6 separate regions of the Homo sapiens genome follow, and all the other regions are linked to region 4. The links are contacts of gene promoters, found by promoter capture Hi-C in blood cells and fetal thymus (Javierre and others, 2016). All regions are on one chromosome and are shown on one strand. Each heading gives the region's core, a stretch centred on a gene start or on the middle of the fragment in contact. The rest is flanking DNA. Distances are from core to core; before and after follow the strand shown. Region 1 has its middle 10 kb from the start of UBALD1. Region 2 overlaps PPL (periplakin). Region 3 overlaps SEC14L5 (SEC14 like lipid binding 5). Region 4 holds the start of ZNF500 (zinc finger protein 500). Region 5 overlaps CDIP1 (cell death inducing p53 target 1). Region 6 overlaps MGRN1 (mahogunin ring finger 1).

Evidence for each region. The method cuts DNA at HindIII sites, captures the fragments that hold promoters and counts their contacts. A CHiCAGO score of 5 or more calls a contact.
Region 1: a contact is called between a fragment that was not itself captured here and the fragment with the promoter of ZNF500 in region 4, in 1 of 17 cell types (neutrophils). The highest score is 5.9, in neutrophils.
Region 2: a fragment that was not itself captured here is called in contact with the fragment with the promoter of ZNF500 in region 4 in 6 of 17 cell types (erythroblasts, endothelial precursors, M0 macrophages and 3 more); the score reaches 6.8 in erythroblasts.
Region 3: a fragment that was not itself captured here is called in contact with the fragment with the promoter of ZNF500 in region 4 in 1 of 17 cell types (megakaryocytes); the score reaches 5.5 in megakaryocytes.
Region 5: a fragment that was not itself captured here is called in contact with the fragment with the promoter of ZNF500 in region 4 in 2 of 17 cell types (erythroblasts and M2 macrophages); the score reaches 5.9 in erythroblasts.
Region 6: a fragment that was not itself captured here is called in contact with the fragment with the promoter of ZNF500 in region 4 in 3 of 17 cell types (fetal thymus, erythroblasts and monocytes); the score reaches 7.9 in fetal thymus.

Annotation. Positions count from the first base shown.
Region 1 is chr16:4,602,713-4,607,046 of GRCh38, reverse strand. No RefSeq gene overlaps it. Among named protein-coding and RNA genes, the nearest start is that of UBALD1, 10 kb to the left of the region's middle. The HindIII fragment of the contact is 8,608 bases long and covers 1-4,334 here.
Region 2 is chr16:4,929,046-4,933,271 of GRCh38, reverse strand. All of the region lies in intron 1 of PPL (periplakin), which reads left to right. Among named protein-coding and RNA genes, the nearest start is that of PPL, 6.0 kb to the left of the region's middle. The HindIII fragment of the contact is 3,713 bases long and covers 1-3,282 here.
Region 3 is chr16:4,988,984-4,992,875 of GRCh38, reverse strand. SEC14L5 (SEC14 like lipid binding 5) reads right to left here. Exons shown (of 16, transcript NM_014692.2): 5 at 1,981-2,109; 6 at 846-1,038. Among named protein-coding and RNA genes, the nearest start is that of SEC14L5, 33 kb to the right of the region's middle. The HindIII fragment of the contact is 7,545 bases long and covers 1-3,892 here.
Region 4 is chr16:4,765,912-4,769,761 of GRCh38, reverse strand. It overlaps ZNF500 (zinc finger protein 500), which reads left to right and starts at 2,600. Exons shown (of 6, transcript NM_021646.4): 1 at 2,600-2,745; 2 at 3,686-3,850. The coding sequence starts at 3,784. RefSeq lists an enhancer at 1,282-1,361 and a silencer at 2,554-2,853. The HindIII fragment of the contact is 2,671 bases long and covers 117-2,787 here.
Region 5 is chr16:4,513,177-4,517,370 of GRCh38, reverse strand. CDIP1 (cell death inducing p53 target 1) reads left to right here. Exons shown (of 6, transcript NM_013399.3): 2 at 2,707-2,796; 3 at 3,227-3,325; 4 at 3,520-3,675. The coding sequence starts at 3,241. Among named protein-coding and RNA genes, the nearest start is that of CDIP1, 23 kb to the left of the region's middle. RefSeq lists enhancers at 2,572-3,099, 3,100-3,626, 3,627-4,154. The HindIII fragment of the contact is 2,041 bases long and covers 244-2,284 here.
Region 6 is chr16:4,625,773-4,629,604 of GRCh38, reverse strand. The region is part of intron 1 of MGRN1 (mahogunin ring finger 1); the gene reads right to left. Among named protein-coding and RNA genes, the nearest start is that of MGRN1, 2.9 kb to the right of the region's middle. RefSeq lists an enhancer at 2,931-3,459. The HindIII fragment of the contact is 1,102 bases long and covers 1,286-2,387 here.

The DNA of each region.
Region 1 (4,334 bases), core at 1,646-4,145, 160 kb after region 4:
CGAATCAGAAACTGATTGAACAGGAGCCCCTGGTTCCAGATAGACATCAAAGTTTAGGAATTGTCCCTACACTTCATCCCTACATCGTCACTAATACCGGGGAAACTGTCCCACCACCCTCATTTCTGTTTCTGGGGGCCACTGTGGGCTGGGCCTGGGGGTCTCAAGTGGTCACATTAAGGACGGGAGAGACTTGAGGTTCCTGCAGGGCTGGCTTTTTCAGCGTGGTCACTGTTGACATTGAGGGCTGTGTTATTGTCCTGCAGTGGTGCTGAGCAGTATCCCTGAGCCCTCCCCACTGAATCCAAGGGCAGCCCCCTTATTAGGACAATCGGAAGTGTTTGCAGCCAGTGCTCATGTCTCCTACAGGCCACCATGGTCCCAGTGGAGTGCCTCTGTGCTAGTTCTGTGGCTCTCATACCTGGCTGCACAGCAGGTAAAATAAAACTGGCAAACCACAGGTTCGTTGGCCTCATGCCATCAGACTCTCTGGGCCGAGGCCGAGGCCGAGGCCCTGACGTACAATCGTGGAAGCTCCCTGGGTAGATGATGGTGATTGATCTGTGACTGTACCAAAAGCCACTCAATGGCATGCTTTAGAAATGTGGACGTTCTGGTGTGTCAATTATACCTCAAGGCTGTTATTGAAAATAAAACAGGCTGGGCAGGTGGCTCACGCCTGTAATCCTAGCACTTTGGGAGGGTGCAGCGGGGGGATCATGAGGTCAAGAGATCGAGACCATCCTGGCCAACATGGTGAAACAGCCGTCTCTACTAAAATACAAAAAATTAGCTAGGCGTGGTGGCGGGCGCCTGTAGTCCCAGCTACTCGGGAGGCTGAGGCAGGAGAATCGCTTGAACCCAGGAGGTGGACGTTGCAGTGAGCAGAGATCGCTCCACTGCACTCCAGCCTGGAGACAAAGCAAGACTCCACCTCAAAAGAAAAAAAAAAAAAAACAGAAAAAAATGAAAATAGCTCCTTTCACATATATTTTTACGTGCCATCTAGTCATGCCCCCCACATCGTGAGTGGGAGCCTGCAGACTCGATCCCCGGACTTCCAGAGCACAAGCGTCCCCTGGGTGCTTGCTGAACACCCACGTTCCCGGCCTCTCCCTTGAGGCAGTTGTTCTGGAGGAGGGTCAAAGAATCTGATTTGTGTTTTAGAGATAGGGTCTTGCTCTGTTCCCCAGACTAGAGTGCAGTGATGCAATCATAGCTCACTACAGCCTTGAAATCCTGGGCTCAGGTGATCCTCCCACCTCAGGCTCCCAAGTAGCTGGGACTACAGGTGCACGCCACCACACCTGGCTAATTTTTTTTAAATTTTCTTGTAGAGATGAGGTCTTGCTATGTTGCCCAGGCTGCCCTTGAACTCCTGGCCTCAAGTGATCCTCTTGGCTTGGCCTCCAAAAGTGCTGGGATTACAGGCGTGAACCACCTCACCCAGCCCCAGATCTGATTTTTAATAAGTGCCCCAGGCCAGGTGGGAACCACTCCCAGTGGGAGCAGTCTGGGAGCCTTGGGGAGGGCAGGGCTGGGGCTGGGGCTGGCAGTGCAGGTGTTTTCCGGCAGATGCAGAGGCCCTACCAGGTGTGCTTGGAGCCCTTGGTCGCAGGGGCATCTTACAAAAAGAAGGGGGCTGTGCACGTGGGCTAGGACTAACTCTAGGGGAGCCAGAGGTGGGCCTACGAAATCACCACATGCCCCAGACCTTGAATGTGACACAAAGAACCTGGAGCCTCCCATGACTTCTCTAAGCCTGGAAAATCGAAAGCAAAACCAACCGGAGGCCAGACACGGTGGCTCACACCTGTAATCCCAGCCCTTTGGGAGGCCGAGGTGGGTGGATCACCTGAGGTCAGGGGATCAAGAGCAGCCCTACCAACATGGTGAAACTCCATCTCTGCTAAATACAAAAACTTAGCTGGGTGTGGTGGTGCATGCCTGTAATCCCAGCTACTCAGGAGGCTGAGGCAGGAGAATCGCTTGAACCCAGGAGGCAGAGGTTGCGGTGAACCGAGATGGCACCACTACACTCCAGCCTGGGCAACGAGCGAAACTCCGTCTCAAGAAAAAAAATCAGGAGAGTTTATGGGAAAAGCCTCACTTCCGACTTATCTTGGAAACTGGAAGATTTGGTGCAAATTCCCTTAAGGCCATAACTGGCTGAAACTGACCATGGCACTGGGGACACGGCGTGGCCTGCCCCTGCCAGCCTGCTCTACGCCACCACAGCCATGCACGAGTCCAACTCCTGCGTGGGAATCGGCTGGAATCCCTGGAGGGGGTCTGTCTTTTCACCACGGGGAGCTTCAGAAGTAAATGCCCTGTCCAGTGGGGTAGGATGAACGGCGGTGGGCAGGGCTCCCCCTGGAAACGGCCGTGAAAACAGACGGCTTGTTCTGCAAGATGCTCTCGGTCGAGAGGGACTCACCAGGGGCTGCTGAGTGTCCCCAGGGTCTTTGCAGCGGTCCAGCCAGGGTTCTCTGAGAACACCCTGCGGTCAGCCACAGGGAACCAGGCTGTCTCCGAGGCTGACTGCGGGGCTGGGTGGGGCTGCTGTGGCCCTGGAGGTCTCTGAGGGGCTTTCACAGCAGTCCCTGGCACAGGACAGATGAGTCCTTTGACTCCGGTCTTCTTCCCCGAATACGGGAGACCTCCTAGGTTGGCCGGAATGGAGTTCTTTTGACACAAGGCTACTTCTAATTCCTGCGTTTGGAAAGTTCTCTGGGTTTTTGAGCACTGCTCATATTTGGACAACGGATGTATTTCAACAGAGCCTTAAAAGAACACGGCTGTTTTGGAGGTGAGGGGCTACCGAGTCCTTTTAGGGAGGGCAGAAATTGGGGGCCCCTTCCAGGATGACCAAGGACTTGTCAGTGGCACAGCACTAGGCACCGAGGAGCCTGCTGGTGAAATTCTGCTCTGCTTCCCGGGGTCATCTCTCATCTCCTGGGGAATTGCAAAGCCACGATCTTGATGGAGTCATTTTGTCCTCATCCCAGTGGAGCCACGAGCAAGGTGAGGGAGGCAGAGGAGAGAAACCCTTGTCTGCCGGTTGTGTGTGTGGAAGGTCTCTGCTTAGAGCTCGCACATCCATGGAGAGTCAGAAGTCAAGCCAGCCAGGACAGTGGGTGTGGGGGGTTGGAGGGAGCATGTGTTGGTTCCTGCGTCCCTAAGAAGTCGCTGCATGCCACGCCCTTCTGTCTGGTGCCTGAACTTCCACCCTGGGCAGTCCACTTTCGGGTACTCACAGTGCCCTTTTCCAACACACGTGCTGGCGTCTGTTGTTTATCCCTTAGTGTTAATGAGTTCATGGTCCTTGAAAGGGAGAACACGTTGAATGACCTTTCACTTGCAGGGGTGGGCTGGGATGGGCCTGGCAGTGTGAGGTGGTCACCACACAGCATCTCCTCTATTCCAGCAGCACCTCAAGGTGGGACCTTCCTTTCCCTTCCTGCCCACCCCATTCACAGAGCCCCGCGCCCCTCCCTCCTCTCCCCACATGACCAATTCATCTGTCTTCTTTTTTTTTGTTTGAGACGGAGTTTCACTCTTGTCCCCGGGGCTGGAGTGCAATGGCGCGATCTTGGCTCACTGCAACCTCTGCTTTCTGGGTTCAGGCGATTCTCCTGCCTCAGCCTCCTGAGTAGCTGGGATTACAGGCGCGTGCCACCATGCCCAGCTAATGTTTTGTATTTTTAATAGAGACGGGGTTTCATCATACTGGCCAGGCTGGTCTCGAACTCCTGACCTCAGGTGATTTGCCCACCTCGGCCTCCCAAAGTGCTGGGATTACAGGCGTGAGCCACCACGCCCGGCCATGTTGTTGTTTTCTGTCACCCAGGCTGGAGTGCAGTGGTGCAATCATAGCTCACTGCAGCCTTGATGTCCTGGGCTAAATTGATCCTCCCGCCTCAGCCTCCCAACTAGCTGGGACCACACACATGCACTACCACGCATAGCTATTTATTTTTTTGTAGAGACGGGTCTCACTGTTGCCCTGGCTGGTCTGGAAATCCTGGATTCAAGCAGTCCTCTAGCCTCTCCCTCCAAAAGTGCTGGGCTTACAGGTATGAGCCGCTATGCCCAACCAAGCCACAGCTGCTGCCTAGGGAGTAGCGCAGCTCCCCCTCCCAGCTTCCAAGGCCTGCAGGCGCCACCCCTCTGCACTAGTGTGGGTTAGGGGAGATTCTGCCTGCAGCTCCCACCTGGGACCCAGGCCAAGGCCAGCCTCCCCACACCCTCCCTTGGGCACTGCCTTCTTCCGGGACTGCTCCTCACGGGCCTGCTGTGGGGCCGGAGTCCCCACCTTCCCAAGCCCCCAGGTG
Region 2 (4,226 bases), core at 177-2,676, 160 kb before region 4:
GACCCCAGGCTTTGAGGGGAGAGCTGGCAAAAGGGAAGCATGCTCTACTGGGAGGCACCTGGGGTACCCTGAGCCTCTTAGTGGTTAAGAACACAGTGTTTTATTAGCTGGGCATGGGGGTGGGTGCCTGTAGTCCCAGCTACTCAGGAGGCTGAAGCAGGAGAATCCCTTGAACCTGGGAGGCAGAGGTTGCAGTGAGCTGAGATTGTGCTACTGCACTCCAGCCTGGGTAAAAGAGTGAGACTCTGTCTCAAAAAGAAAAAAAAAAAAGCAAGAACACAGTGTTTGATGCTAGCTGGGCATGAGTTCAGGCCGCAGCTCTGGGTCTCTTAAGCTGTTTGATCTTGGGCAAGTCACTTAATGTCTCCGAGCCTCAGTTTCTTCATCTATGAGGTGGGGTGACAACAGCAACCCCCAGTTGGTGAGGCTGCTGGGTAGATCAAATGAGGGGATGCACATGATGGGTCCAGCCCATGACCTGGTTCAGAGCGAGTGCCCGGCAAATCATAGCAGCCAATACTAGGAAGCACACACTGCTATTAAGAGTCATGACGGGCTGGGCGCGGTAGCTCACGCCTGTAATCCCAGCACTCTGAGAGGGTAAGGCGGACGGATCACTTGAGGTCAGGAGTTCAAGACCAGCCTGGCCAACATGGTGAAATCCCATCTCTACAAAAATAAATATTAAAAATTAGCTGGGTGTGGTGGCGGAAACCTGTAATCCCAGCCAGATACTGGGGAGGCTGAGGCAGGAGAATCACTTGAACCTGGGAGGCAGAGATTGCAGTGAGCCGAGATCACACCACTGCACTCCAGCCTGGGAGACAGAGCGAGACTCCGTCTCAAAAAAAAAAAAAAAAGATTCATGACTGAGCCAAGCCCAGAGCTGACCAGGGAGCTGACTCAAGCAGACACGCACATGCACCCATCGATCAGTGTTGGTAGGAACGCCTGATCGATATGGGAGGGGACCCATGTGGGTAACAGCTTAGAGAGAGCCGCCCCGCCATTTCTCAGGCACATACTGTGAGCCCAGCAAGGCCATGGATGTTACATCTCATTCTGACAGCGGGCCTGCCATGCAGGTGGAAGTGTCCTGTTTCACAGAGGGCTCACATTCACCTTGAGCTCACAGCTCACAAATGGCTGATGCTGGAAGTCCAGGGGGGCCTGGGGAAGCAAATGAGGCCTCCCCACTCGTACCTGGATCTGGCAGCAACTGTGCCTGGGGACTGCTCCAGGCCAAATGGTAGAGTCATTGGTGTTTGTGCTCACTGCCTCTACCCCCAGCAACCCCCTCTACCTCTCTTCTCTCTAGCTTTGCCCCTCCATCCCTTGCCCAGTTCTCTTGGAAGAAGGAATGAGACTGGATAAATTCGATTCAGGACAGAGCTGAGCTTACCTGGAGGAACAGCTGCTAATGGTAGCATTTCAGGCACTGTCGGGCGGATCATGTTGGGAAAGGGTATTTTGGGGGAGAGACTCAGCTCCGTCCACACCCTTTAAGCAATACCCTAAGGGTGTGGTTGGGGGAGGCCCTGGAAGTAGGGGACCTGGGGGAGAAGCTGCTTTAGAGAGCTTCCAAAGCTCCTCGTCTGGGGAAGAGAACCCTGGCTTCCCAGCGTGCAGCTGCTCTCTGCTCCCGGCAGGTCTGTGCCGGTGTTACCGGCACCACCTTGCATCCTCCCAGCCTGCCTGCCCCGGCCTGTCTTGGGAGCGAATGGGGAAACGGCCTCTGGTCTTTGTTCTCCCGGCTTCTGATGGGTTGCTGTGCTGCAGCCTCTGGAGCCCGGGAGGCCACCTGGTGCCCCTTTCTGCCTCCGGGTGGGACAAAGCTCTCTTCAGGTCCCAGCCCTGCCCTTCCCTACCCCAACCTATTTTTTTTAAGTGTTCTTTCTTTATTCTTTAGAGACAGGCTGTCACTGTATCACCCAGATTGGAGTGCAGTGGTGCGATCATAGCTCACTGTAGCCTTGAACTGCTGGGCTCAAGCAATCCTCATGCCTCAGCCTCCCAAGAAGCTGGGACTACAGGTGTGCACACCACCGTGCCCCGCTAATTTTTAATATTTGTAGAGATGGGGTCTCACTATATTGCCCACTCTGGTCCTGAACTCCTGGGCTCAAGTGAGCCTCTTGCCTTAGCCTCCCAAAGCACTGAGATTACAGCCATGAGCCACTGCACGCAGGCCCTTTCCCTTTAAATGGATCCCCACTTCTCCCTGCCTGCAGAGCCAGCAGCCCAGCAGGCCTCCAGTCCCTCTTCACTGTTCCTTCTTCCACTCCAGCGCTCCAGTCCCTTCTCCCCATGGCAGCCAGGGAGCTCCTTACGACATAAATCTGACCATACCTCCAGCTGCTTAACCCCTGCCCCAGACCTCTCTTTGCTCTTAGGCCCTGGGAGCTGGTGCCCTGCACATCAACATGTGCCTGTCACCGTCTTGTTTCCACGCTGTGCCCGGCCACAAGGCCTTTCCCTCTGCCATTCCTGTTGCCCAGAATGCCCCTCCCACCCCTTTTCACTGCTTCTCTTCCACTTCCAGGTTTACCTTCTGTTCCTCAGGGAAGCCTTCCCCAACCTCTCTGCTGGGGTAGATCCACCTATTCTATGGACTCCCCTTCTCCTTGGTAGCTCTTATCTCAGCAGCTATGTGACTCCGGGGTAGCCACATGTGGCTGTGTGGCTGCCTTCCCCCAGACACTGGTGCTACACGCGTGCTGAATGAATGAATGAATGAGAGTAAGCCATGGGGGACTGCTAAGATTCTCCCCTTCCCTCAGCATTTCAAGAGAGCATACATTGCCCTGCGCTTCACACCCCAGGACCAGCAGAGCCCGGAGGTGGGGATGAATGGGGCAGGGGTTCCAGCTAGTGGAAAGGAGTGCGAGGCCTGAGCAGGCTGCCCCCTGCCCTGTCCCCATCCAGTCACCTCCTGCGTGCAGGACGGTGAGCAGAGAGTTGGCTGAGTACACAGCTGGCAGCAATGCGGAGTGATAGTGAGATAAAGGAGGGCCCTGACCCAGCCACACAGGCTTCTTCAGGAGAGGTCCTCCACGCCGAACCCGGGGATCAGTTGGAGATGAGAGGATAAAGAGAGTGCAGTTGACAGAAGGTGACGGGGATGTGTGTATCCACGACCCGAAAAGGCATGACAGTGAGCAAGCAAAGCAAGTTGATGAAGGATGCAAAGATGATGCTTGCATATATACATTTTTAGAAACATACACAGAGCAATTCCACTTACTCTTCCTGAATGCAGATGTGTCTATGTATTGGAAAGCTTAGGGAACCAGGTGCAGTGGTTCGCACTTGTCCTAGCGCTTTGGGAGGCCAAGGCGGGAGGATGACTTGAGGCCAGGAGTTGAAGACGAGCCTGGGCAACATAGTGAGACCCTATTTCTACCAAAAAAAAAAAAAAATTAGCTGGGCATGGTGGTGCATGCCTCTAGTCTTAGCTACTCAGGAGGCTGAGAGGGGAGGATCCCTGAGTCCAGGAATTCAAGGCTGCAGTGAGCTGTGATTGTGCCACTGCACTCCAGCCTGGGCAACAGAGCAAGACCCTGTCTCTAAATAAATAAAATAAAACAGGCTTAGGAAGAACCAGTAAATCTAAAATTCTGCTACTCCTAAGAAGGGGCCTGAAAGGATAATGAACAATAACATTTCTCTTCCTTTTTAGAAAAATCTGCAGCAAAGATGGTACTGTGAAAACATCAACCAAACCGTGGTGGTGGGGACATGCGTGGCTGATTCTTTTCAGTACTTTTCTGCATGTCTGAGTAGATCACGAGTTTTCCAGTTTAGGTGAAGGGTGGAGTAGAGAAGGCGAGCTGGCGTGGGGCACAGCTGGCGGGGGGCACAGCGTGGGAAGAGCCTGCAGGCAAGCCCTGAGTCCTGGGTCTCAGAGTCCAGTCCATAGCAAAATAAAAGGTCTGGGAGAGGAAGAAGAGGGACCTCAGGAAGCAAAGGGGGCCCAGTCCTGGAAGGCAAGCAGGCAGGTTCTGGATGGGGAGACAAAAATGGAGAGTCTCTGCAAGGAAGTGAGAGGGGAGGGGACCAGAACTGGGAAAGGTATGAACACAGAAAGGCCTTGAGGTTGGGTGCTAGCTTAAAACCATCACCCTAAATTATGATTATTACATTGTCTGAGATAAATTCTACCCTCAGCTCTCGTTCCAAGTGAGGCTCAGAGAGTTTGAGTGACTCGCTCCAGGACTCTCGGCAGA
Region 3 (3,892 bases), core at 1,302-3,801, 220 kb before region 4:
ATGTATGCATGTACACACATATGTGTGTGGGTATATATACATTTTATGTGCATATATGCACCTAAACAGCTTCAGGACATAGAAACACAAAACTATTGTTAGCCTTTAGGGAGAGGAAAAGAATCGTACTTCTTACATCTTCCTTACAGTTTGAATTTTTTTCTACCATGATCATGCATTACTCGTATAATTTAAAATAGCAATAGCAATCGTAATAATTAGTAAATTCATAATAATTGCTAAGTTAGTAAATAGTAAAACCAGAGAAAGAGGCAATGTCAAGGCACCAGAGGTTAATTCCTGATCTAGAAATAAATGAGTTTTTGCCGGGTGCAACGGCTTACGCCTGTAATCCCAGCACTTTGGGAGGCCAAGGCAAGCAGATCACTTGAGCTCAGGAGTTTGAGACCAGCCTGACCAACATGGTGAAACCCCATCTCTGCTAAAAATAGAAAAAATTGGCCGGGTGTGGTGGCAGATGCCTGTAATCCCAGCTACTTGGGAGGCTGAGGCAGAAGAATCACTTGAACCCGGGGGGCGGAGGTTGCAGGGAGCCGAGATCGTGCTACTGCGCTCCAGCCTGGGAGACATAGGGGGACTCCGTCTCAAAAAAGAAAAGAAAAGAAAAGAGAAAAGAAAAGAAACAAATGAGTTCTGCTCTTGGACCAGGATGGAGAGAGAGAAAAGCACTCAGTGGAGGCAGGAGGCGGTGTCGTTCCAAGACCCAGACCCATTCCCAGGGGGGACGGCAGGCAATTCTCCCCAACATGCCCCAGGGCCCCCCATGGAGCAAGAGGACCTGCAGCAGCCTCCTAGGGCTGACTGGCCTGGGCTGTACCACCTACCGTCCATACTGACCGCCTCCAGAGCGGGCCCCAGGGTGCTACGGGGCCCGTGGGCCTCCAGGGAGCTGGGGTCCCTCGGTCCAGCCTGGTTGCGGGCATCCTCCTCACGGACTGGGGCAGGCGTCCAGCGCGGAATGTGCGAGGTACCCTGGGAGATGAGCTCATTCAGGTAATGCTCAATCACCTCCTTCCCCTGGAAGCCAGAGAGACCCAAGACACATGAGCACGGGGCAGGATGGAGGGGGGTCACAGGATCACCACAGGGAGTCACCCCCAGCCGGCTCAGGTCCCAGCCCCGACACGTGGCTATTGAGTGGCTGGATGTGTCTGGTCGGGATGGAGAGAAGCTGCGAGTGTCCAACACCCACCTAATTTCCAAGGCTTGGTACGAAACAAAGAATGCAAAATAGCTCAGTAATCAGTTTTTTGGGTTGGGGGTTGTTTTTGTTTTTGTTTATTTTTTTTGAGACAGTGTCTTGCTGTGTTGCCCAGGCTGGAGTGCAGTAGTGTCATCTCAGCGCACTGCAGCCCCAACCTCCCAGGATCAAGAGATCCTCCTGCCTCAGCCTCCTGAGCAGCTGGGACTATAGGCACACACCACCACACCCACCTAATTTTATTTTATTTTATTTTTTTAGAGATGGAGTCCACTATGTTGCCTAGACTGCTCTGAAATTCCTGGGCTCAACTGGGCCTCCAACCTCGGAGAATTAAGTTTTATATTGATAACACATTGTTTAAAAATTTGTTATTAAAGTTAATTTCATCTGTTTCATCACAAGAACGGGTTTTTACTCAGGGATGGATCTGAGGTCTTTAGAGCAAGCAATGATCATTTTATCTAAAAAAAAAAAAAAAAAAAAAAAAAGCACCACAGAATTATCTGTTGTCCAGATAATTCACCACATAAGCCTGGACATCTCATGGTGCCAGAGCGAGGATTAGGGTGCCCCTGTTACAGACCAGTTACTTTCCATCCATTATCTCGTGGTGATTTGGTCATTACTAGAGTACCCATTTAACAGATAACACTGAGCCCAGGAAGGGTAAGGGTCTTGCCAGGGGTCATGCAGCTGTTGATGGCAGAGCAGGTGTGTGCACCTTCCTCCAGTAACTAACGCAACCCACCGCTTACCCTCTTGACGTTGGCGGTGTACTGCTTCATGGCGATCTTCTCCAAGGCATTTTCAAAGCCAAAGAAAGACCGAATGTCCAGTGAGGCAGACTGCTCGAAGCAAGTCCAGTCTTCATTCTCAGGGTGGACCTGAAAGCCAGGCAGGGGTCATGCCAGGGACTCAATGTCGGGGGCACCCTGCCCTCCCCTAGGGCTCTCCCACTGACCTGGGCCCAGGCAGAGCCTGCAGTGGAAAGCAGATCAAGCCTGGCAACCCTGGATGGGGTAGCAGGACCAAGGGGCCCCCACCCAGAGAACGATGCAAAGTTCAAACTGTCAGGGAACAAAAAGCCTTCTCATGAGAAGCCGGGAGAATGTGGGTCTCAAATCTGCAGCCCTGCCCTTTCAATATTATACACATACATAGAAAATTAGTTAGAAATACTTATGTTTAGGTCGGGCATGGCGGCTCACGCCTGTAATCCGAGCACTTTGGGAGCCCAAGGTGGGCGAATCATTTGAGGTCAGGACTTGGAGACGAGCCTGGCCAACATGGTGAAACTCCATCTCTACTAAAAATCCAAAAATTAGCCAGAGATGGTGGTGGGTGCCTGTAATCCCAGCTACTCGGGAGGCTGAGGCAGGAGAATCGCTTGAACCTGGGAGGCGGAGGTTGCAGTGAGCCAAGATCATGCCACTGCACTCCAGCCTGGGTAATAGAGCAAGACTCCATCTCCAAAAAAAAAATAATAAAATAAATACAATTGTTCAGTGTATCATTTATATAATCTATAAATAAATTATATATCAATATTACACATAAAATTTAGATATAGATTTTTTAAATAGTTGTATATTATATGTTATCTATATAAAGATATATTACATATCCTTATATATCAATAAACATTTATAGATCTGTATGTTTGCAAAAAGAAAACTTCATTGGCAGAGCTCCTTTATGGATCCAGACCTAGTCCTCCTCAAACGTCTGTGGGCAGAAACATTACCAAGGAGTCTGTTAAAATATGCAGATTCCTGGGCCTGCCCCTAGACACTTCCAGGTTGGGGCCCAGGAATCTGCATTTCGCAAGCAGCCCCAGGTGCTGCTGACTCAGCTATTGATAGAACTCATTCTGAGAAACACCACACACACTAAGAGGGGTTTCAACAACTGTTGCTTGCCCCTCCCCAGAAGATCTGAACACCCTGAGCCCAAGCTCCTGGAGGACCCAAGAGGAGTTGGAGGCGTAGAAAGAAAAGGCAATGGAGCCGGGTACGGTGGCTCATGTCTGTAATCCCAGCACTTTGGAAGGCCAAGGTGGGTGGATCACTTGAAGCCAGGAGTTTGAGAATAGCCTGGCCAACATGGAGAAACCCTATCTCTACTAAAAATACAAAAATCAGCCGGATGTGGTGGCACATGCCTGTAATCCCACCTACACGGGAATCTGAGGCGTGAGAATCTGAGGCAAGAGAATCCTTTTAACAAGGAGGCGGAGGTTGCAGTGAGCCAAGATTATGCCAGTGCACTCCAGCCTGGGCCACAGAGCGAGACTGTCTCTCAAAAAAACAAACAAAAAAAAAAACAAAACAAACAAACAAACAAAAAAAAAAACACGTACAATGGTCTACCATTGCTATCCTGGAGTTATCATCGTGAAAACGATCCAGCAAGGCAGGATCTGCCAATGTCCCGATTTTACAGATACAGACAGTGTGGCCCAACGTCACTCAGCAAGAAAGTGGCAGAGCTGGGTCCCATCAGTGAATGCCTGCAGGTGCCTCATTCCAGCCTCTAAAGTCATCAAGATCTAGGCCCCATGGCCTCACCTTGGCAGACCTCACTCATGCTGTTCCCACCCCCAAAATGCTGTTCCCAGTCCTCCATGAGCAGCTCCTCTCATCCTTCAGCACTCAGCTTCAGTGCCCC
Region 4 (3,850 bases), core at 1,351-3,850:
TCCTTGTCAGTGACTACCACCATCACTAGTTACCCCAACTCTGGACCACTCCAGGAGCTTCCAGCTAGTCTCACTGCTCCTCTCCAGTCTTTCTGAGATCTGTACTCCACAAAGCTTCTTATCTGATCACGATGCTATCCTACTTAAAACCCCAAACTCTATTGACTCCAAGGATAAAATCCTTAATCCTCACCAGAGTCTCCAAGTATGGTCAGGCCTTGCCCATCCCTCCAGCCACATCTCCCAATCTCTGGTCTCCATTCTGTTCCTCAAACGCACCGTGTTCTCTCCGGCCCCAGGACCTTTGCACTTTTCACTCCTGCTGTCTGGAATCCTCCCCACCGGTTCCCCAGGTTAACCCTAGGCTGCTCAACTGTCACTTCCACCCTGAAGGTATCAGGTTCCCTCTTTTACGCCGCTTGCTAACATTTGCCAAAGAAGTGATTAAACAATTCTTCGTGCAATTTTGTCCACTGTATGCCTCTCATGGTAATTTTGTCCACTGTATGCCTCTCATGGCAAGCTCCATGAAAGCAGGCACCTGCCACCACTCCATCACCCGAGCGCCTAGTTAAGGGGGCAGTTGGGAGGACTCAACGTGCAGCGTTTATGCATTTATTATGCCTGGATGAATGGTCTTGAATGAGTTACAACCTTGAGGGTTAATGTCCCCCATTAACAGATATGGAAACTGAGGTTCAGGGCGCGCAAGGGAACCGCCCGCAGTCTCGACGACAAGGACGCTGCCACCGGGAGACTGCAGCCCCTTCCTCCGAGCCCCTGGCAGTGCCGCCACTTGAGGAGACCCTCCAGGCCGCCAACCCACCCCCTCTAGAGCGCCCAGGAATCTGCCTCCGGGGAGGGCGCGGGGCGCTCTGGGAAATGTAGTCCTGCCAGCTTCCTGAATCCGGCGTCCCCAAATTTGTTTCCGGCGGGCTGAGTCCTAGCCGATGCTTTGGGAAAGACGCGCGAGATTCCGGGGGTAGATCCGGGATGCGAGGCGGGGCGCGCATGCGGGGCGGAGCTTGTGCGGGGCGGGGCGTACGTTGAGTGTACGCCTGCTGTGTATGCTGCGTTGCTGCTCACCCGAACTCGGTGCTGGGACTCTTTCCTGGGCACCCCAGGCAGAGGGAAACTCCGGATCATGTTCAACCAAAGAGGAAAAGCAGCGAGAATCCAGCATAGGAGACGGGCCTTAGGATGCCCAAGTTAGGATTAGGGGCAAACTACGTTAACCTGGTAGTTAGGAGCTGAAGTTCTGGAATCAAAGATTTGGGTTCCAATCCCATTTCTGTACTTCCTGTTTGACCTTCTCTGGGGGGTTCAATACTTAAAACTCTCAGAGCTTCAGGGTTTTGTTTTGTTTTGTTGAACCGGTAGGTCTAGTTATAGTACCTCTATTACTAAATGAGGAAGAAACGAAGTACAAATGTGTTTTGCTTGCTTGATGCTCAAGAATTGATGCGACCGGGAGCGGTGGCTTACTCCTGTAATCTCAGCACTTTGGGAGGCTGACGTGGGTGGATTGCTTGAGGCCGTTGGAGACCAGCCTGGGCAACATGGGGAAACCCCATCTCTACTAAAAATACAAAAATTAGCCGGACCTGGTGGTTCGTGCCTGTAATCCCAACTATTCGGGAGGTTAGGTAGGAGAATTGCTTAAAACCGGGCGGCGGAGGTTGCTGTGAGCCAAGGTCGAGCCACTGCACTCTAGCCTGGGCGACAGAGTGAGACCCTGTCTCTAAATAAATAAATACATACATACAAGAATTGATACCTGGCTGGGCACACCTGTAATCCTGACACTTTGGGAAGCTGAGGCGGGAAGATTGCTTGGGCCCAGGAGTTTGAGACCAGCCTAGGCACCATGGTGGGACTTCATCTCTAACAACAACAACAAAGATTGATGCCCATTATTATGTTGTCAGAAAGAAGCAGGCAGGACAAGGGATATTTGGGGTTGGACGTTGTTGGGGGCCCTCTTGGGGGAGGGTGGGCGCAAGCACTTGGCATCTCTTCCAGTTTTATCTTGAACAACTTCTGCCTTTATTTATTTTATTTATTTATTATTTATTTATTTATTTTTTGAGATGGAGTTTCGCTCTTGTTGCCCAGGCTGGAGGACAATGGCAGGATGTCGGCTCACTGCAACCTGCGCCTTAGCCTCCTGAGTAGCTAGGATTACAGGCATGAACCACCACGCCCAGGTTTCTCCACGTTAGTCAGGCTGGTCTCGAACTCCCGACCTCAGGTGATCCGCCCGCGTCGGCCTCCCAAAGTGCTAGGATTACAGGTGTGAGCCACCGTGCCCGGACGACTTTGCTGGCTTTAAAGATGGAGGAGGCGGCCAGAGGAGAGCGGAGCGGGTGTGGAACAGTGACTGGGAAAGTAGCCCAGAGGCTGCAGAGTCGCCGCACGCTCGCGCGGTCACCGAGGTGCTGGACTACGTTACCCACAATGCGTGCCTTTGAGGACCACATTAACCACAGTGCACGTCGCGGACCCGCCCACTCGGCCGTGTTGCCACGCCCCCAACGGCCGGCTTAGCCAATGGTGCCACGGCTACGTTACCCACAATGCCGCCTGCGGGCCCACCCGCACGGCCTGGTTTGCACCCCTGGTTTAGGGTCTTCGGCCCCGGCTCTGGCGTCCCTGGCTGCCAAGCCTGAGGCCCGCAGTCCTACTCCCGCCGAGACCCGCCGCTCCGGTCCTGCCCCGAACTGCCCACGGCCGGCAGCGCTTCCAGTGAGTGCGGGGGGCGCGGGGACGCGGGTCCCGGCCGAAGCTTCGATTTCGCGGCCCGCGCCAGCACCCGGGTCTGTGCCGCGGCCTCGGGTACCGCTCACCCTCCACCTGAGGGATGAGACGGGAAAGCAGCCCGGCCTGGGGGTCCCAGCTCTCCCAGGACCCTGGAATTGGGGGGCTGTCGTGACCACCCACGCGGGGGTGCCTGACGGGGCCGCGTAGGGGCTTCAGGGTTCGCCAGACCTGGACACCGGGGATCAAGTTGAGGCAGAGTCTGCAGAAAGGCCCTACTTTTCATCAGATTTCCAAAGGAACCCCTTCCATATAGGACCCACTCTAATCATGGAAAATAACGATTCTCGAGCTCTGACCGCAAACATCCCTTTTAGATTGTTTTTGTTTGAGTCTCTCTCTGTCGCCCAGGCTGGAGTGCAGTGGCGCTATCTCAGTTCACTGCAACCTCCATCTCCCGGGTTCAAGCGATTCTCCTGTCTCAGCCTCCCGAGTTGCTGGGATTACAGATGTGCTACCACCATGTCGGGCTAATTTTTGTATTTTTTGTAGAGACAGGGTTCCACCACGTTGACCAGGTGGTCAACTCCTGAACTCACGTGATCTGCCCTCCTCTGCCTCCCAAAGTGCGGGGATTACAGGCGTCAGCTACTGCCCCCAGCCATCCCTTTTAGTTCTGTCAGCAACCTGTGTGTGTAGGTCCTGTTATCATCTCTGTTTGCCCAGTGAGGAAGCAAAGCCCAGAGCCCTTCAGTAAATTACCCGGGAATTAACAGGGGGTTAATAACAAAGATGACATTCATCCACTTCCTTTTCCTTTTCCATGGTGGGGTGAGCTGGCCTTGGAACCAGGGCAGGGGCTTCCCAGGCCAAAGGGCTTATCCAGCCCCAGGGCTGCCCTTCAGATGGTTTTATCGTCTCTCCACAGGGCCCTGAAAAAAACTCTCTTCCTGTGTCTGGCCAGAGGTATAGAGAGAGACAGGTTCAACTCTAAGGCCTGAAAAGGAACAAGGCCCACCGGAAGCAATGGCCACTGTCCCTGGCCTCCAGCCCCTGCCAACCTTGGAGCAGGACCTGGAACAGGAAGAGATCC
Region 5 (4,194 bases), core at 15-2,514, 250 kb after region 4:
TTATGCCCCGCCCCATCCTTTTCTAGGCCTCCATGTCTTCTGTGGATAATAAGGCAACTCAGAAGAGGTGTAATTTCTGAACACTTGGAAAGATGTTCTGTCTCCTGATTGCCAAAGAAATGCATATAAAAATAAGTGACATTTTAATATGAAAATTAATAACTGGCACTATAAATTGGCATCCTTTCAAAAAGGCATAAAATGCTCATGTCCTTTGACCTAGTCATCTCACTCTGACAAGCTTAGCCTGAGGAGATAATCTAACAAAAGGGAAAGAGCGGTGGACAGAGGTGTTCTCTTGTATTTCATGAAAGCAGCAAGTAGGGCCTTGCCTAAATGTCTTAATAGGGTTTGGTCAAGTATGCCCATTTTGTGGAATATTAATATCAACGGTCACGGAGTCTTGTAAGATGGAATATGTGTGACACAGCATTAAAAGGATTTACCAGCCTGGTCAATGTGGTGAAATCCCTTCTCTACTAAAAAAATACAAAAATCAGCCAGTCGTGGTGCCGTGTGCCTGTAGTCTCAGCTACTTGGGAGGCTGAGGCAGGAGAATCGCTGGGACCCGGGAGGCAGACGTTGCAGTGAGCCAGGATCGCGCCACTGCACTCCAGCCTGGGCAACAGAGCAAGACTCTGTCTCACAAAAAAAAAAAAAAAAAAAAAAAAAGGATTTAAAACTGTCAGGACAGCAACTATATTTTTATATGGTATGGGCTGGGCGCAGTTGCTCCTGCCTGTAATCCCAACACTTTAGGAGGCCGAGGCAGGAGGATTGTTTGAGGCCAGGAGTTCGAGACCAGCCTGGGCAACATAGTGAGACCCCCGTCTCTACAAAACAAAACCAAAAGGTACAGGTGCCTGTGCATACAGACCAGCAGGGACATGTGGAGATGGGCTGCAGTAGGACTAATTTTCTTTTCCCTCATTTTTTTTAAAAATAAGTTTTATTGACATAATTTACGTACCATTCAATTCACCCATTTAAAGTGTACAATTCAGTGGTTTTTAGTTATTCACAGAATCGTTCAACTGTTGCTACAATCGGTTTCAGAGCATCTTCGTTACCCCAGAAGGAGATTCCATGTTCCCCATTTCCCCTCTCCCCCAGACCTAAACAGCTACTAATGTACTTTCCGTTTCTATGGGTTTGCCTATTGGGGACATTTCATATAAGTGAAATCATACAGTATGTGGCCTTTTGTGTCTGGCTTCTCTCACCAAGCATGTTTTCAGAGTTCATGCTGTAGGGTGTCAGTGCTTCCTTCCTTTTTATAGCCGAATCGTCTTCCATTGTCTGGGCAGCCTACGGTTTTGTTTATCCACTTTGTTGATGGACATTTGGGTTGTTTCCACTTTTTGGCTATTATGATTCATGCTGCTGTGAACATTTGTGTACAAATTTCTGTGTAGACAGGTTTTCATTTCTTTTGGGCAGATAACTAGGGGTGGAATTGCTGGGTCATCTGGTAACTCTAGGTTTAACCTTTTGAGGAACTGCCAGACTGTTCCTCAAAAGGGGAACAGGGGCTGGCAGTTCTTCAAAAGGTTTGCAGGGGCTGTCCCCTACCAGCAGTGTATGAGGGTTCCAGTTTTTCTACATAATGCCTATTACTGTCTTTTTAAATTTTAGCCATCCTAGTAGATAGGAAATGGTCTCCTTGTGGTTTTGGTTTTCATTTCCCTTATGAAAAGACGCTCAGTAGTTTTTCATGTGCTTTTGGCCATTTGTCTTTTGAGAAGTCTTTGTTCAAATCCTTTTAAAAATTGGGTTGTCTTTCTGTTATTGAGTTGAGTTCTTTGTATTTCTTAATACAAGTCCTTTATCAGATCTATGAATTATAAAATGTGATGGTATCCTTTGAAGCACAAGAGTTTTTCATTCTGATGACATCCACTTTAAGTTTTCTTTCTTTTGTTGCTTTGCTTTTGGTGTCATATCTAAGAAACCACTGCCTAATCGAAGGTCATAAAGATTGATGCCTGCATTTTCTTCTAACAGCTTTTTGATCTCTTTCAGTTTTCAAACTTCCATGGTACTTTATAGTTGAACCCAAGAGCTTGGACTTGGTTCCTCTGGCCCTGCCCCTGATTTGTTAAACTTTATATTCAAACTTATGTGCCCTCCATCCCCTGCAGGTGCTGGGCTGTCTGGGAAACACTCCTTTCCCTGTATTTTTTGTTCCACTGAAACTGATTTTTGTCTCATTTTATTACTTTTAGCTAAGGTAACTGAACCCCACTTCCCAAGTCCTTTATGATGCTAAGTAAGAGCAAAAGCTTCCCACCTTTCTGAGCTGTGCTCAGAGAGTTTGGTGACAGAAATGAGGGAAAAGATTTCACTTGACTCTTCTTCCCCCTGACCCCCACCTCAACAAACAAACCAGAAGGGCACAGGCCAGAGCACAGCTTGCCTGGCAGTCCAGTCCTCATGCATGGGAGCTCAGGCCTGGTGGGAGGGGAGGCAGAGGGCCCAGCCGTGGCCCTTGGGTGCCAGCAGTCCTGGGGGAGGGAGGAAGCAGACCTGCGACGGGACCGAGGAATGGAGGGGTGGTCGGGTGTGTGGATGGCAGAGTGACAGCTAGGGAGAAGCCGGATGTGGAAGGGGAGGAACTGTGTGGTATGCCCAGGCCCCTGGGCCCAGCCCTGGCTTGGCAGCCCTTGCTCCCTGCTGAGGGCCCTGCCTTTCCTTCCCCTGAAACAGCTCCCGGAGCCCTGCCTGTTCCCTGTCCATCCAGGCCAGCAGCTGAAGGAGCCTCACCTGCCTCCCTTCTCTGAGTAGCACGGATTTGAGGTAAGAAATCCCCCAGAACCCCCATTCCCAGTGCAGCCTGTGGCAGAGATCGGTCCAGTGTCTCCTCCGACTGCCTTAGTGCCCGCTAAACGTTTGGGGAGGGGAGAGCTCGGTGCCAAACTGCTCTCGTGTGGGGCAAGTGCTGAGTTAGGCTCCTTGGGGGACTTTACCTCACTGGGCCCTGCTTCCTGGGTTCTGTCCTTGCCCTTCAGCTTCCAAACAGGGAAGAGCAGGTGACTACTGAGAGGTGAGGATGGTGGCTCTGGGCTAGGTGGCCCTGGGAAAGGTGGGGGATCCCCAGTGCCTGGAGGCAGACCCTTCTGAGGATGGTCACACGCCTTGTGCAGCATCTTGGCCACCCCACAGGGCTGAAGGAGAAGGAACCTGGCTGGGAGCTTAGTTCATGTCTGGGTTTTCCCTCCATGTCCAGGAGAAGCAGCGAAGATGTCCAGCGAGCCTCCCCCTCCTTATCCTGGGGGCCCCACAGCCCCACTTCTGGAAGAGAAAAGTGGAGCCCCGCCCACCCCAGGTAGGGGGTCACTGTTCCTGAGGCTCCATATTGCAGCCCCCTGCCGCCATGGCATGGTTGGGACTCTCTAAGTGGTGATGCCCACTCCAGGGTTACCCCTGGGCCCCATCTGTGTCCCAAAACAGTGGCCTCTGGTCGAGCTCATCGTGCAGAGGCTCCAGCTCAGTCTCCTCTTTCTGCCTCTCTCTGTCCAGGCCGTTCCTCCCCAGCTGTGATGCAGCCCCCTCCAGGCATGCCACTGCCCCCTGCGGACATTGGCCCCCCACCCTATGAGCCGCCGGGTCACCCAATGCCCCAGCCTGGCTTCATCCCACCACACATGAGTGCAGATGGCACCTACATGCCTCCGGGTGAGTGGGGAAGGGATCTGAGGGGAGCATGGGGAACTCCTGGCTGCTGTCTGGCCTGCGCTGGCTGTCCTCAGTACAGGTGGGCATCTGCTGTAGGGCAGGGACTCCAACACGCCCAACCAGCCCTTGCCTAGGGCTCAGGCTGTGTGTGGACAGGGACTGTGGACGTGGGAAGGTGGGACTGCTCTTATTCAGGCTGGTCAGGAAGGGCTGGTCCTTGGCACACCAGGACCTGACATGGGTGGGGAGGGGCGCCTTGTGTGCAGGAGAGGGGTGGGTGACCCGCAAGGCTTTCCCTCTCTTGGTCATGGGCTTGAGGCTGAGTGCCCTGTCCTTGCATGCTGGAGACAGACAGAGGAGCAGAGGGACCGGGCCATGTGCCTGGCTCTCTGCCACATCTGTCATGGGCCCCAAGGGGTGGGGACCAGGAAGGGCTGGGAGAATGTGGCCCCACTTGACTTAGGGCCCCAGCTGTAAGGCCTCCCACTGGCCCGTTAGGAGGGCGGTAGGAGGTCTGAG
Region 6 (3,832 bases), core at 587-3,086, 140 kb after region 4:
ACCACGCCCAGCTAATTTTTGTATTTTTAGTAGAGATGGGGTTTCACCATGTTGGCCAGGATGGTCTCAATCTCTTTACCTCATGATCCGCCCACCTTGGCCTCCCAAAGTGCTGGGATTACAGGCGTGAGCCACCATGCCTGGGCCCAAGATTTCTTAAACATAACTCCAAAAGCAGTATCCACTTAAAAAGCAGTAAATGAGACTTCGTCAAAATTCAAAACTTTTGCTCTTCAAAAGAAACACCATTAAGAAAATTAAAAGACAAGCCAGACTGGGAGAAAATATTTGCAAATCACATGGCTGACAGGAGAATCCTATCCAGAACACATAAAGAACTCTTTGTTACAACTCCGTAAGATAAACAATCCAGTTTTTGAAAATTGGACAAAAGACTCAAATAGACACTTTTCACACACACACACACACACACACACACACACACACACACACATACGAACAGAAAGCAGGCCAGGTGCAGTGGCTCACCCCTGTAATCCCAGCACTTTGGAGGCTGAGGTGGGCAGATCACCTGAGGTCGGGAGTTCGAAACCAGCCTTCCCAACATAGTGAAACCCCGTGTCTACTAAAAATACAAAAATTAGCCTGGCATAGTGGCCAGTGCCTATAATCCCAGCTACTTGGGAGGCTGAGGCAGGAGAATCACTTGAAACCAGGAGGCAGAGGTTGCAGTAAGCCAAGATTGCACCACTGCACTCCAGGGCAACAGAGCGAGACTGTCTCAAAAAAAAACAGAAAAGGCTGGGCATAGTGGCTCACACCTGTAATCCTAGCACTTTGGGAGGCCAAGGCAGGCAGATCACCTGAGGTCAGGAGCTCGAGACCAGACTGGCCAATATGGTGAAACCTCATCTGTACCAAAAATTTAAAAATTAGCCGGGCGTGGTGGTGCGCACCTGTAATCCAAGCTACTCAGGAGGCTGAAACAGGAGAATTGCTTGAACCCAGGAGGCGGACGTTGCACTGAGCCGAGATCATGCCACTGCATTGCAACCTGGGCGACAGAGCAACACTCCATCTCAAAGAAAAAAGAAAGCAGATCGCTGATGGGCTGAGGGTGGGGGTTGGGGTAGGGACTCTGCAAACAGATGGAAGGAAACTTTTACAAGGGAAATGTCTGCAATTGTGGTGATGACTGCACAATTCTTTTTTTTGTTGTTGTTGCTTCAATGTCCCCTCCTTTTTTTTTTTTTTTTTTGGAGACAGAGTCACACTCTATCGCCCAGCTGGAGTGCAATGGCGTGATCTCGGCTCACTGCAAGCTTCACCTCCCGGGTTCATGCCATTCTCCTGCCTCAGCCTCCCGAGTGGCTGGGACTACAAGCGCCTGCCACCACACCTGGCTAATTTTTTGTATTTTTAGTAGACATGGGGTTTCACCGTGTTAGCCAGGATGGTCTCGATCTCCTGACCTCGTGATCCGCCTGCCTCGGCCTCCCAAAGTGCTGGGATTACAGGCGTGAGCCACCGCACCCACCCACAATTCTTTTTTTTTTTTTTTTTTGAGACGGAGTCTCACTCTGACACCTAGGCTGGAGTGCAGTGGCGCAGTCTCGGCTCACTGCAACCTCCGCCTCCTGGGTTCACACCATTCTCCTGCCTCAGCTTCCTGAGTAGCTGGGACTACAGGTGCCCGCCACCACACCCAGCTAATTTTTTGTATTTTTGGTAGAGATGGGGTTTCACGGTGTTAGCCAGGATGGTCTTGATCTCCTGACCTTGTGATCCACCTGCCTCAGCCTCCCAAAGTGCTGGGATTACAGGCGTGAACCACCGCGCCCAGCCTTTTTTTTTGAGACGGAGTCTCGCTCTGTCACCCAGGCTGGAGTGCAGTGGCGCAATCTCGGCTCACTGCAGCCTCCACCTCTCAGCTTCAAGCAATTCAGCCTGCCTCAGCCTCCCGCGTAGCTGGGACTATAGACGCCTGCCATCACGCCCGGCTAAATTTTTTTGTATTTTTAGTAGAGACGGGGTTTCCCCGTGTTAGCCAGGATGGTCTCCATCTCCTGACCTTGTGATCCGCCCGCCTTGGCCTCCCAAAGTGATGGGATTATAGGCGTGAGCCACCGCGCCTGGCCAGACGACTGCACAATTCTATAATTTAACTAAAAATCATCAAATCATGTTTACAATGGATGAGTTGTGTGGTACATGAACTACATCTCAATAAAGCTATGAAGAGTAAAACAGATATAGTGAAAACAAAGCAAATATTAAATTCAAGCTGAGCGCTGCTGCAGAACATGCTGAAAGTTCCCTTAAGAAAAATGGACAGTGTTAGGTGTTAAAAATGCATATATTACCACCCAGTGACTCTTTCTCCTTGACATAATCAACAAAATTGACAGAGATGTGAAAAGAAAGCTTTCTCATCGGGTGATTGAATGGTCCATGGGGGCAACCCCTAAAATCATCTCAAATGTCTCCACGGTCCCCGGTCTGCCCTTGGGGAAACACACCAAAATGCTGCTGAGGCCCGGCCTGCCTCCCACCCTTGACCTGACGGAGTTCTCATTAAGGAGACAGGAGAGGCGGGGAGTCTAGGAAACCAGTGCGGCACAAAGGCAAGGACCAGAAGAGATGAACAAAGAGAAGAACAAGTATCTGCAAGGCCCCAGGGAAGGATGGAGAAGAGAAAGGGAAAAAGCACAGCTGGAGAGGACCTGTGGACTGGATGGGCGCAGAACACTGCTGGCACTGGCAACATGACCCAGGCAGCTAGCTGATGGGTTGCACCTGGGTGCCAGTGCCAACCAATAGTGGCTGACGCGAGTGTTCTGCGATGGATGCTCAGTGGGAGGGAGGGCCACGAGTGATTAGCAATGACATTTCAGCCACAGTGGGATCCCGAAGCGGGCTGTAAATGACATGTATGTTATTCTGTTCAGCCCAAGTGAAGAACGGACATCAAGTGAGCTCAGGTCCCAGGTGACAGGAAGTGCCACTCAACTTTTTGATATCTGTGTCATGCCACTGCTTACTATGATTATGGTCATTAGCTAGTCACTTATCTTCCTTTATGAGCAATTGTAGCAGCTACCATTTGGGGACTTCTGAGCCAGGTGTGGTTCTGAGGGCTGTATAAGCATCAGCCCGTTTTACAGATGAGGAAACTGGGACCCAGGGGGTTAAGCAACCTCGACCAAGGTCACTCAGCCAGAGGCAGGCTGGAAGAATATCAGAGATGAAAGAGGACAACAGCAAACTGCTCCATCTGATGTAGGGCCATCAGCCCTCGGAACCTCTAGGGAAACCCCAGGGTGGAACCACCCAAAGGCCAGGCTGACCCGCTGCTGGGCCTGGGATACAGCTGTGCTCTCCCCAGCAGGCAGGCAACAGTGCGTTCTGCCTAGCTCTGAGTCCATCCCCTTCAGAGTGCCCCCAAACTGTGCTGGTTCCCCTCACTTCATCCCAGTGGCCCCAGGCCCTCACCTAGTCACACCTTACAAAACCTGGGCAGAGCAGTTTTTCAAACCTGAGTGGACGTAAAACTCACATGGGGAATGGGTTGAAAATGCAGGTTCCCAGGCCCCAAGGGGTCCCAGGCAGGCCCTGGCATGTCTAGCAGTCCTCCCCCACTTGTGGACCTGGCCCACACTCAGAGAAATCTGGCCTGTGGGTGTCCGGAGACACCCAGGAGACTGAGACATCAGATCAGATGAGACGCCAGGATCTGAGGACCCAATCTAGATGTCCCCATGATGCCCAAGTTCTCTCTCCTCTTCCTTCTCTCCTTTCCACCACAAAGAACCCCACGAGGAGATGGAGGGTGAGACTTGGAGCTAGATGCTCCCAGTCAACACATAACTCA